Linked DNA regions of Homo sapiens: region 1 is linked to region 2. Evidence: promoter capture Hi-C in human tissues and cell types (Jung and others, 2019). All regions are on one chromosome and are shown on one strand. Each heading gives the region's core, a stretch centred on a gene start or on the middle of the fragment in contact. The rest is flanking DNA. Distances are from core to core; before and after follow the strand shown.

Region 1 (4,397 bases), core at 1,787-4,286, 40 kb after region 2:
CATCCCACAAATAAGTGAGAACACGCAGTGTATGTCTTTCTGTGCCTGTTTTATTTCATTTAACGTAATGACTTCCAGTTCCATCCACGTTATTGCAAATGACCGGATCTCATTCTTTTTCATGGCTGAATAGTACTCTATTGTGCATAAGTACCACATTTTTTCTTGTTTTTTGAGACAGAGTCTTGCTCTGTTGCCCAGGCTGGAGTACAGTAGTATAGTCCCGGCTCACTGCAACCTCTGCCTCCCAGGTTCAAGCGATTCTCTTGCCTCAGCCTCCTGAGTAGCTGGAATTACAGGCGCCCACCATCATGCCCAGCTATTTTTTTTGTATTTTTAATAGCGACAGGGTTTCACCATGTTGGTCAGGCTGGTCTTGAACTTCTGACCTCAGGTAATCTACCCTCCTTGGCCTCCCAAAGTGCTGGGATTACAGGTGTGAGCCACCGCGTCTGGCCCCACATTTTCTTTATTCAGTCATCTATTGATGAACACTTAGGTTGCTTCCAAATCTTGGCTATTGTGAACAGTGCTGCAACAAACATGGGAGTGCAGATATCTCTTTGATATACTGGTTTCTCTTCTTTTGGGTATATACCCAGCAGTGGGATTGCTGGATCATATGGTAACTCTGTTTTTAGTTTTTTGAGGAACCTCCAAACAGAATAGTTTATTTCCTAATAAAAATACAGAACATATTACTAAGATAGTTATGTTTAAGACTTCCTACAGATTTTTCACCTACTAATATGTTTAAATGCTCATGTTCGTGTTTTAAATTCATGTTCTCAATTCAAGTTCATATTATAAATTATATAAAATATTCAATTTTTAGATCTTATAGATAAATAAAATCTATGGAGTTTTCAGGTATTATCCCTGATTGCTGTGTCTTTTCATCTGATATGTTAATGGTTGGGTCTGAGCATTTTAACCAGTGATTCACTGAATTAGGTGTAGTACAATAGGGGATATAAGTAAATGAGTTGGGGTTATGGGAACTGGGGGCAGGAATTTGTGGAGCAATCTTCAGATACTGGAGAATAGAGACTTGGCAGTGTGCTTAAGATCAGAATCCTGGGGAAGGTAGCTGTCAGAGCCAGGTAGAGAGTTTGAGGAATCCAGATTTTATAAAAATTAATAGGCCTAAGTGAAGTAGATATAATTGATATGAAATGACCTATTTATTCTTTGTGATAAATGTTATTTTATTTTTTATATATAAATAAGAAAAATACCTTGGAATTAAATAAAACATTTTATATGGATTAAAAGCACTCACCTTCCCCTTTAAGGAAGGTCCTACTGATAGCTACAGGAAATATCTTTTCTAACCCTTTACAGCAAGCTCGTCCAACCCGCAGCCTAGGATGGCTTAGAATGCCGCCCATCACAAATTGTAAACCTTCTTAAAACATGAGATTTATGCACAGACCTTTTCTTTTTTTAGCTCATCAGCTATCGTTAGTATTAGTGTATTTTATGTGTGACCAAAGACAATTCTTCCAGTGTGGCCCAGGGAAGCCAAAAGATTGGACACCCCTGCTTTATAGGTAAAACATTTTACTTTAAAAAGTCGACACTGTGAGAAACTTCATCAACTTACTATGTAAAAGTCATTTTAAATGATATTTCTTACAATACCAAGTTGATTAAAATGTAGTACCTACCCTTCTGAAGTTTACAGTCAAACTATAGGATGTATAGTTTTTCCATGTACAAAGCATTTTCAAGTACGAATATATTTCATTTAATCTCCCAACCACTCTGGGAGAGAGGTGGTGGTATCTGAGATTCCATATATGCAGGCAGGTTTAGAACACAGTTTTATTCAAGGTGATGCTGCGATTGAGTTGCAGAATCAGAATTCGAACTCCAGTCTTCCAGTTCTAAAAGCCTGAACAATTTCTACTGACATGCAGTTTCTCTCCATATACAAGAGGAAGAGGAGGATGTGGTAGCAACTAATAATGACCAGGCACTGATTATGTGTTCTATGTGCCTTTGAATGCATTAATTCGGTTATTCCTATGAAACAACCCTATCACATAGGCACTTTTATCCCCATGTTACAGGCCCAGTGATTGAACAACTTGCTCAGTATGACTCAGTAAGTGGCAGAATCCACATGCAAACAAGGCAGTCTGACTCTGTAGCACATACTTTTTGCTACTGTGCTAGACCAATAACTGCAATATACAGCAGACCATGATTGGTAACGTAAGACATTTGATAGCAGAGTCTTACGTGAGAACAAGAAAGAAAAAATATTATTTCTTGTTAGGGGCGTCAGGACATATTTCAGAGAAAGGGTGGTATTTGAGATTAACCATGAAAGATGGAAACAACTCTGAGAGAGACAGAGATGAGGGAAGAACAATCCAGGCAGAGACAAAAACATGTGCAGAGATATAGAGACAGAAAAGTAAATCATGTATTTGGAGATTATTGCATAGTTGAGTTTGTTTAGAGGTTGTTTGTTTAGAGGTTAGGGATCATGGATCCTAAAGGAATGTAAACCCCTGAAATGATATGCTAAATTTGGTAGGTGCATTTTTTTTTTTGAGCTAGGTCTCACTCTGTTGCCCAGGCTGGAGTGCAGTGGCATAATCACGGCTCACTGTAGCCTAGACCTTCTGGGCTCAAGTGATCCTCCCACCTCATTCCTCCGAGTAGCTAGGACAAAGATGCGTGCCACCACACTCGGCTAATTTTTGTATTCTTTGTAGAGACTGGGTTTCACCATGTTGCCCAGACTGGTTTCAAACTCCTAGACTCAAGCCATCCACCAGCCTCGGCCTCCCAAACTGCTGGGATTACAGGCATGAGCCATCACACCCTGCTGGGATGTGTACTTTTTTTATAGAGCTGTCATCAAATTCCCAAGGGAGGATGTGACTCAAAAGAGAGTCACCAGGTTGGGGAGTAGATAGAAATATGACTGGTTAGTAGTCCGGGAACCTAATATGGAAGGTCTCTTGTAACAGTCTGCAGTTTGTACTTGATACATGTATTTTTTTTTTATTTGGAAGTGTCATAATTAGAGCCTTGTTTTTGGAAGATGCATCTGATATTGTGTGGGTATGTTAGACTAGAGGTAGGAAAGACATTTGGAAAACTTGATCCAGGTGAAAATTCATGTTAAGGTGTAAAGGGAATCAGGAATCTATAGACAGAAATGGAGAGAGACTCATCAGGACTTAGGAACCAGTTTCCTATGGGAGGCAACAAGCATGGGAAAATGGAAGGGTGCTAACTTACTGGGCACCACTTTTGTGCCAGTGTTTGCTAAATACTTCATAGAAAACTGTGGTCCATAAAACTTCATTTTCTGTGCAGATCAATTCAGAAAATCAATATAGCTGTGTTTACAGTATTTGAGCAAGTTCTAAGTGGTGCATATCTTGTGCATTGGCTGTCCCACACCTTCCTGAAGTTCTGTGATTTTCTAGAAGGACTCACAGTCTTCAATAGCGATTATACTTACGAATAAGATTTATTACAGCAAAGGATACAAAGCAAAAAGAAAAAGTGGGAAAAAGATAAGCATCTGCAGTGGAGTCCAGAGAAGTCAAGCTTGGGCTTCCTAGTACTTTCTCTTAGGAAACCACACAGGGCATGTTTTCTTAGCAGTGAACTACAGGGACATGTGTGGAATGTCTCTGCCCAGGGAAGCCCATTCTGTTGCTTCTAGGGGATTTAGGGGGCTGGTCATGTAGGCACCTCCTGCTAGCAACTGGCCACAGCAGCTGAAACTCAGGACCCTCAATAATGAAGCCAGGTGCACATCATCAATGTTGATGTTTGTGCAAGCAGCCCTGACAAACCTAATCTGGCATAGTTCATTGCTCTGGTATATATAACAAAATCATTAATCATTCACATAAAGAACACTCCAGGGGCCACCTTCTCAGGGGTTGGGCAAGGATCAATCATGGTTCTCTCAGAGACTTGCAAAGAATAAGCAAGCAGATCTGCTCTGTTGTCTCTTTGCTTATACCAATGGTGATATGTTCCATGTCATTCTTCAGATTGGATCATATACTTACACAAGGTTTTTAAATTCTACTTTATAGAACTCAGTTAATTGCATAGAAATGAATAAGAAAGTTCTTGCTTTCAAGAAGTTCACAGTCATAATACAGTGTGATAAATGTAATAAAGAAGCAAATTAATAGCGTTAGTATGGACAGGGCAGTGATTAAGTGTCAGGAACTCCTTGGTAAGAGTCTTTGGAGGAAGTGCCATCTAAATGGGTAAAATCTGCTATCTTAAGATTTACTTAACATATTTACTGCACACATAAGTGAGTTTTCTAAAACCAGTTTCATATAAAGCAATTATTCATTCATTTATTCCACAAATATTAAGTGCTTGTTCTAGACACTGCTAGGTTT
Region 2 (4,167 bases), core at 142-2,641:
TGAACCTAGTTCTTTAAACTTTTCTCCAGGTTGTTATCTGATCTAACTCTGGCACTAATTGGTAAACCCCACAGTCATTCTGGGCTTTTTTTACCTTATACTTGAAATAAGAGAAGTGAAACAATTTCAATTGAATATTTGAGCTGTTTAAGAAATAAAAATCACATTTCCTCCCAAAATAAAATAAGAGAAGGCATTATTTCATGGCTCTGAGGTCTCAACTAGGTCTAATATTATGGGCTTAATTTACAATATTATTTACGGTATCATTCTGACTTCTGAGAGCCTTATATTCACTAAAGAAGTAGTGCTAATGGTGGAGTCCAGAGAACCTAGAACTGTCAGCTGCTCCAGAGAAGGGATGCCCAGGGCCACTATCACAGGTCCACTTACTAATAATAAAAGAAAACTTCAGACCAAAAGCTTCTTCCTTAAGGAAGTCGGGAAGGTTGCTTTAGGTTATAAAGAGGCTCTGAAGAAATTCTGTCTCATTATTAACATGAAACTGTTCTAGAAGCTTTCTGGTAGTGATGTCTCCACCTGATGGCCTTGTTTACCCAGCTAACTCATCTCCCCTGTTCCCTTCCCCTTCCCCTTTCCCTTCCCCACAGACACACTCCATGCCATCTTCAACCACATGCACAATGGTTGTAAGCAGGATGTAAACTTTTATAATGAATTCATTGGAGACAGCCTGCTTTGCACATGCCAGCAAGAATTTCAGGGATGGTTTTCAAACTTGTATTTTATTTAAAAATGTCGTTATCCCCATCACATATAAGGCGTCTTTGCAGCAGCTTTGTCAGTATTTATTAGTTGCTACTTGGAGTCTGTTTTTTCAAAAGAACTGATTAGTCTCAACATCTTAGAGTGATATATTGTTTTATAGCAAGCCCAAATATAAGCTGAAGGCCCTGTGTAAATTACTTCCCCTAATTTCCTTCAGCCACTTGCTCGTTTAGAATGTACACAAACGAAAGATGTCAAGAACGTTTAGTCTGTTATACCTGCCATGGGTGGCTTCCCCTACAGCACACGGTGAAATCTGATTACAGAAGGACTGAGAAATGAAAGCTTTGCTGGAATTAGAGGCAGCTGTCTCAAATAAGAGTAAAGCAGAGCGTGGCACTACATTCTGCAGAAAGAGGCCTTACTGCAGAATATAGTTTTATGCATCACCATGATTCCTAAATCAAACCCAAGTCTCTGACCATCACTTACCGAAAATTTCGAACCATGAAGTTGTGACCATTTCTAAAAGCTGCATTGTTTAACAGGATCCTCAGATTAAACAGCATCTTCTTTTAATTGTGTAAAGGACGATTCTATGCCCTTGAAAACTCCACAGCAAGTTAGCCAGCGGGGGCCACCTAAAAACTAAGAAATGTGTTCAGTTGCAGTGAGGGAGCAAAGGTAATATCACCCTTCAGCTTCCTTATCAAAGTCCCCTGGTTAGAGATACTGCAGGGCAGGGTGTAGGAGCATTTGAACTTTATGCCAAGCTCCACCGCTGTGTATTTTTTTTGGAAGAAATCCTGACTCTTTTATTGCCTGGCCTCCTCATTTTTCATAATATATTTATACTGTCACACGCATGTACAAAATCAATTGACAAGTACTCATTGAGGATATAATATATGCAAGGCACTGCGGTACCGGCTGCTGTGAAGGTGAGTAGAAGTAACTCACTCAGAAAATGCAAATTGGCACTGCAAAAACACAGATGTAGATGTGACAGTCCTGAGTAGTACTATTTCCATTTATTTCACTTTTCTACCTCTAATTGCCAGTCTTTCCACAAAAACAAATAGAAAGAAGTGCCCTGGAAGCTATTTTGGGGGTGCAAGATGATAGAGAAGGTATAGTAAAAATATCTCAGTCCTGGAGCTCCCTTTGTGCCTTGCACATAAGTCTTCAATAAAGAAATAATTGCTGGCCGGGCACGGTGGCTCACGCCTGTAATCCCAGCACTTTGGGAGGCTGAGGCGGGCGGATCACTTGAGCCCAGGAGTTCGAGACCAGCCTGGCCAACATGGTGAATCCCCGTCTCCACTAAAAATACAAAAATTAGCTAGACGTGGTGGTGCACACCTGTAATCCCAGCTATTTGGGAGGCTGAGGCATGAGAGTCGCTTGAACCCGGGAGACAGAGGTTGCAGTGAGCCCAGATTGCACCACTGTACTCCAGCCTGGGTGACAGAGAGAGACACTGTCTCAAAAAAAAGAAAGAAAGAAAGAAAAAGAAAAGAAATAGTTGCCTATTGATTCTAACAGCACCTGACAGTCAGTACAAGTGGGAAGTGGGGATACCATATGCTCTTCCCCTAGCAGCCTATTCAGATCACTAAGGGGCCATCTGCAACTTCACATTTATTCATTTATCCTCAGTTAGAAATCAGGTGATTCAAAGTCAATTCTGTATCAGATACCGAGCTGCACTGAAGTTTCAGAGAGGGAAGATGACATCATCTTTGCAGAGTTCACAGTTCAGTAAAGGTGGTATGATTTATAAACAAATATCCATAATACAAGCCCATAGGAGAGGTCCAGACAAAGTTGTCTGGCTTCGAAGAAGCGGGAGCCCTCTAAGGTAGGAAGGGTAGGAGGAAGGAGAGGAGGGGCAGGGGTAGGGCTGCCTCTTCTGGTCAATTTATATGACTTTAGCAAACCCAAGTAAATATTTTCCAGAAGTTTGTGGAATACCAAAAAGTGTTATTTAAAGACCAACTATGGCCACCTCAGGAGCCGAGATGTTTGTGATGTCATAATTAATACTAGTAGAGAAATAAATATTGTCACCATTTCCTTCTACTTACAGAGAATGATGTGAGATAAAGTGAGGGGAAAGACTGACATTTCCCAACCTCTACCAAATCTTCCATTCTGGAAAGGATATTCCAGGCAGAAGCAACTGCTTGCAAAGGTACAGAGGTGAGAAGGGAGAGAGTGAATTTAAAAAACATAATAAAGCATCTTTGAAGAGGCAAACAAGGCCAGTTATTGAATAGGTTTCAGAGAGCAAAAGCGCTCCACATAATACAGGAGTGAAATTGAACGTTTGCATGGAGCCTGAGGGAGATGAGGCCAAACCACAGGCTAATATAAAGCCCATAGCTTGACCCCATATCTTCACTGAACTGTGCTAGCCATACACACAACTCATATTGGTAATGCTTGGGGAGAAATCAAGAAGTGTCTGCAGTTCCATGCTAGAGAGTACAGGCAGCATTTCTGAGATGCCAAAGCAACTCACAAACCCTCCTAATGCTACAGATGCAGGAGCTCAAAGCCAGAGGGAACTAAAAAAAAGTTAAGATACCAATAACTCCCAGAGGGATTGGAAAAGGGGAGCTGCATCACAAGTGGGATGAAGTTAAAAGCAATTTCACTGAATCTCAAAAGGCAGGGCATCTCAATGAACTTGTTGAGGGGTAGATTTCAACTACCCAGCTTCTGCTGATTATGTCACATGTGGAGTCTGTTTTACTTTACAGGCTTTGATGTTCATCCTCAGAATTCATCCAGGGGCTCTTGTTGACCCCATGATTCCTCTAATTCAATTTTAACTTTCTTGTTTCACTACCTATCTAGTTCTCTTTGTTCACCTAGCCTTTCATTCATCCATTTTTCTCTGCCACCATCAACAATTGTGCAGCCATCATAAGCCAATCCTCTGTGCTGTGTGGGTTCTGAGAGACAGAGTGATAAAACAGGAATGATGAGTTCCTTCCAATATTCACCATTTGGAATGACTCCAGAATACAATTTCTGTCTCTGCTCTCTGACCCCAAACATCTTAACCAGGTGGAGGGGCTTGTTACCTGCTCCCTTGCTTCAAGCCACAGGAGACCTCCAGCTTGACGTGACCCTCTCCTAACTTCTATCATCAGGGGGTGGGGATTAGATGGGGTTCCTGAAAAAGGTGGCACTGATTTTTGATGAATTGCAAGAATCAGAAAATAGTCAAAACTGGAGGGAGCTACAAAGGATATTGTAGCAAAAAAAGGAACCTGTGAGTAGACCTAAAGGAAGGAACAAATAGAGTGTGTAGGGTAAAAACAAATGATATATAACTGGAAAAATACATTCCATCATTGGCCATTGAAATGAAGCCCCACCACCACCAAGCACGCTATGAAAACAAAAAACTACGAGTATCTGTGTCTT

Evidence for each region. Contacts are between HindIII fragments. The study calls those that stand out against the background at their distance.
Region 1: a contact is called between a fragment that was not itself captured here and the fragment with the promoter of OTC in region 2, in 1 of the 25 tissues and cell types used here (ovary).

The regions. Positions count from the first base shown.
Region 1 is chrX:38,311,109-38,315,505 of GRCh38, reverse strand. The region is part of intron 6 of RPGR (retinitis pigmentosa GTPase regulator); the gene reads left to right. Among named protein-coding and RNA genes, the nearest start is that of RPGR, 14 kb to the left of the region's middle. The HindIII fragment of the contact is 7,823 bases long and covers 1-4,397 here.
Region 2 is chrX:38,349,828-38,353,994 of GRCh38, reverse strand. OTC (ornithine transcarbamylase) reads right to left here and starts at 1,391. Exons shown (of 10, transcript NM_000531.6): 1 at 1,222-1,391. The coding sequence starts at 1,298. The HindIII fragment of the contact is 4,808 bases long and covers 797-4,167 here.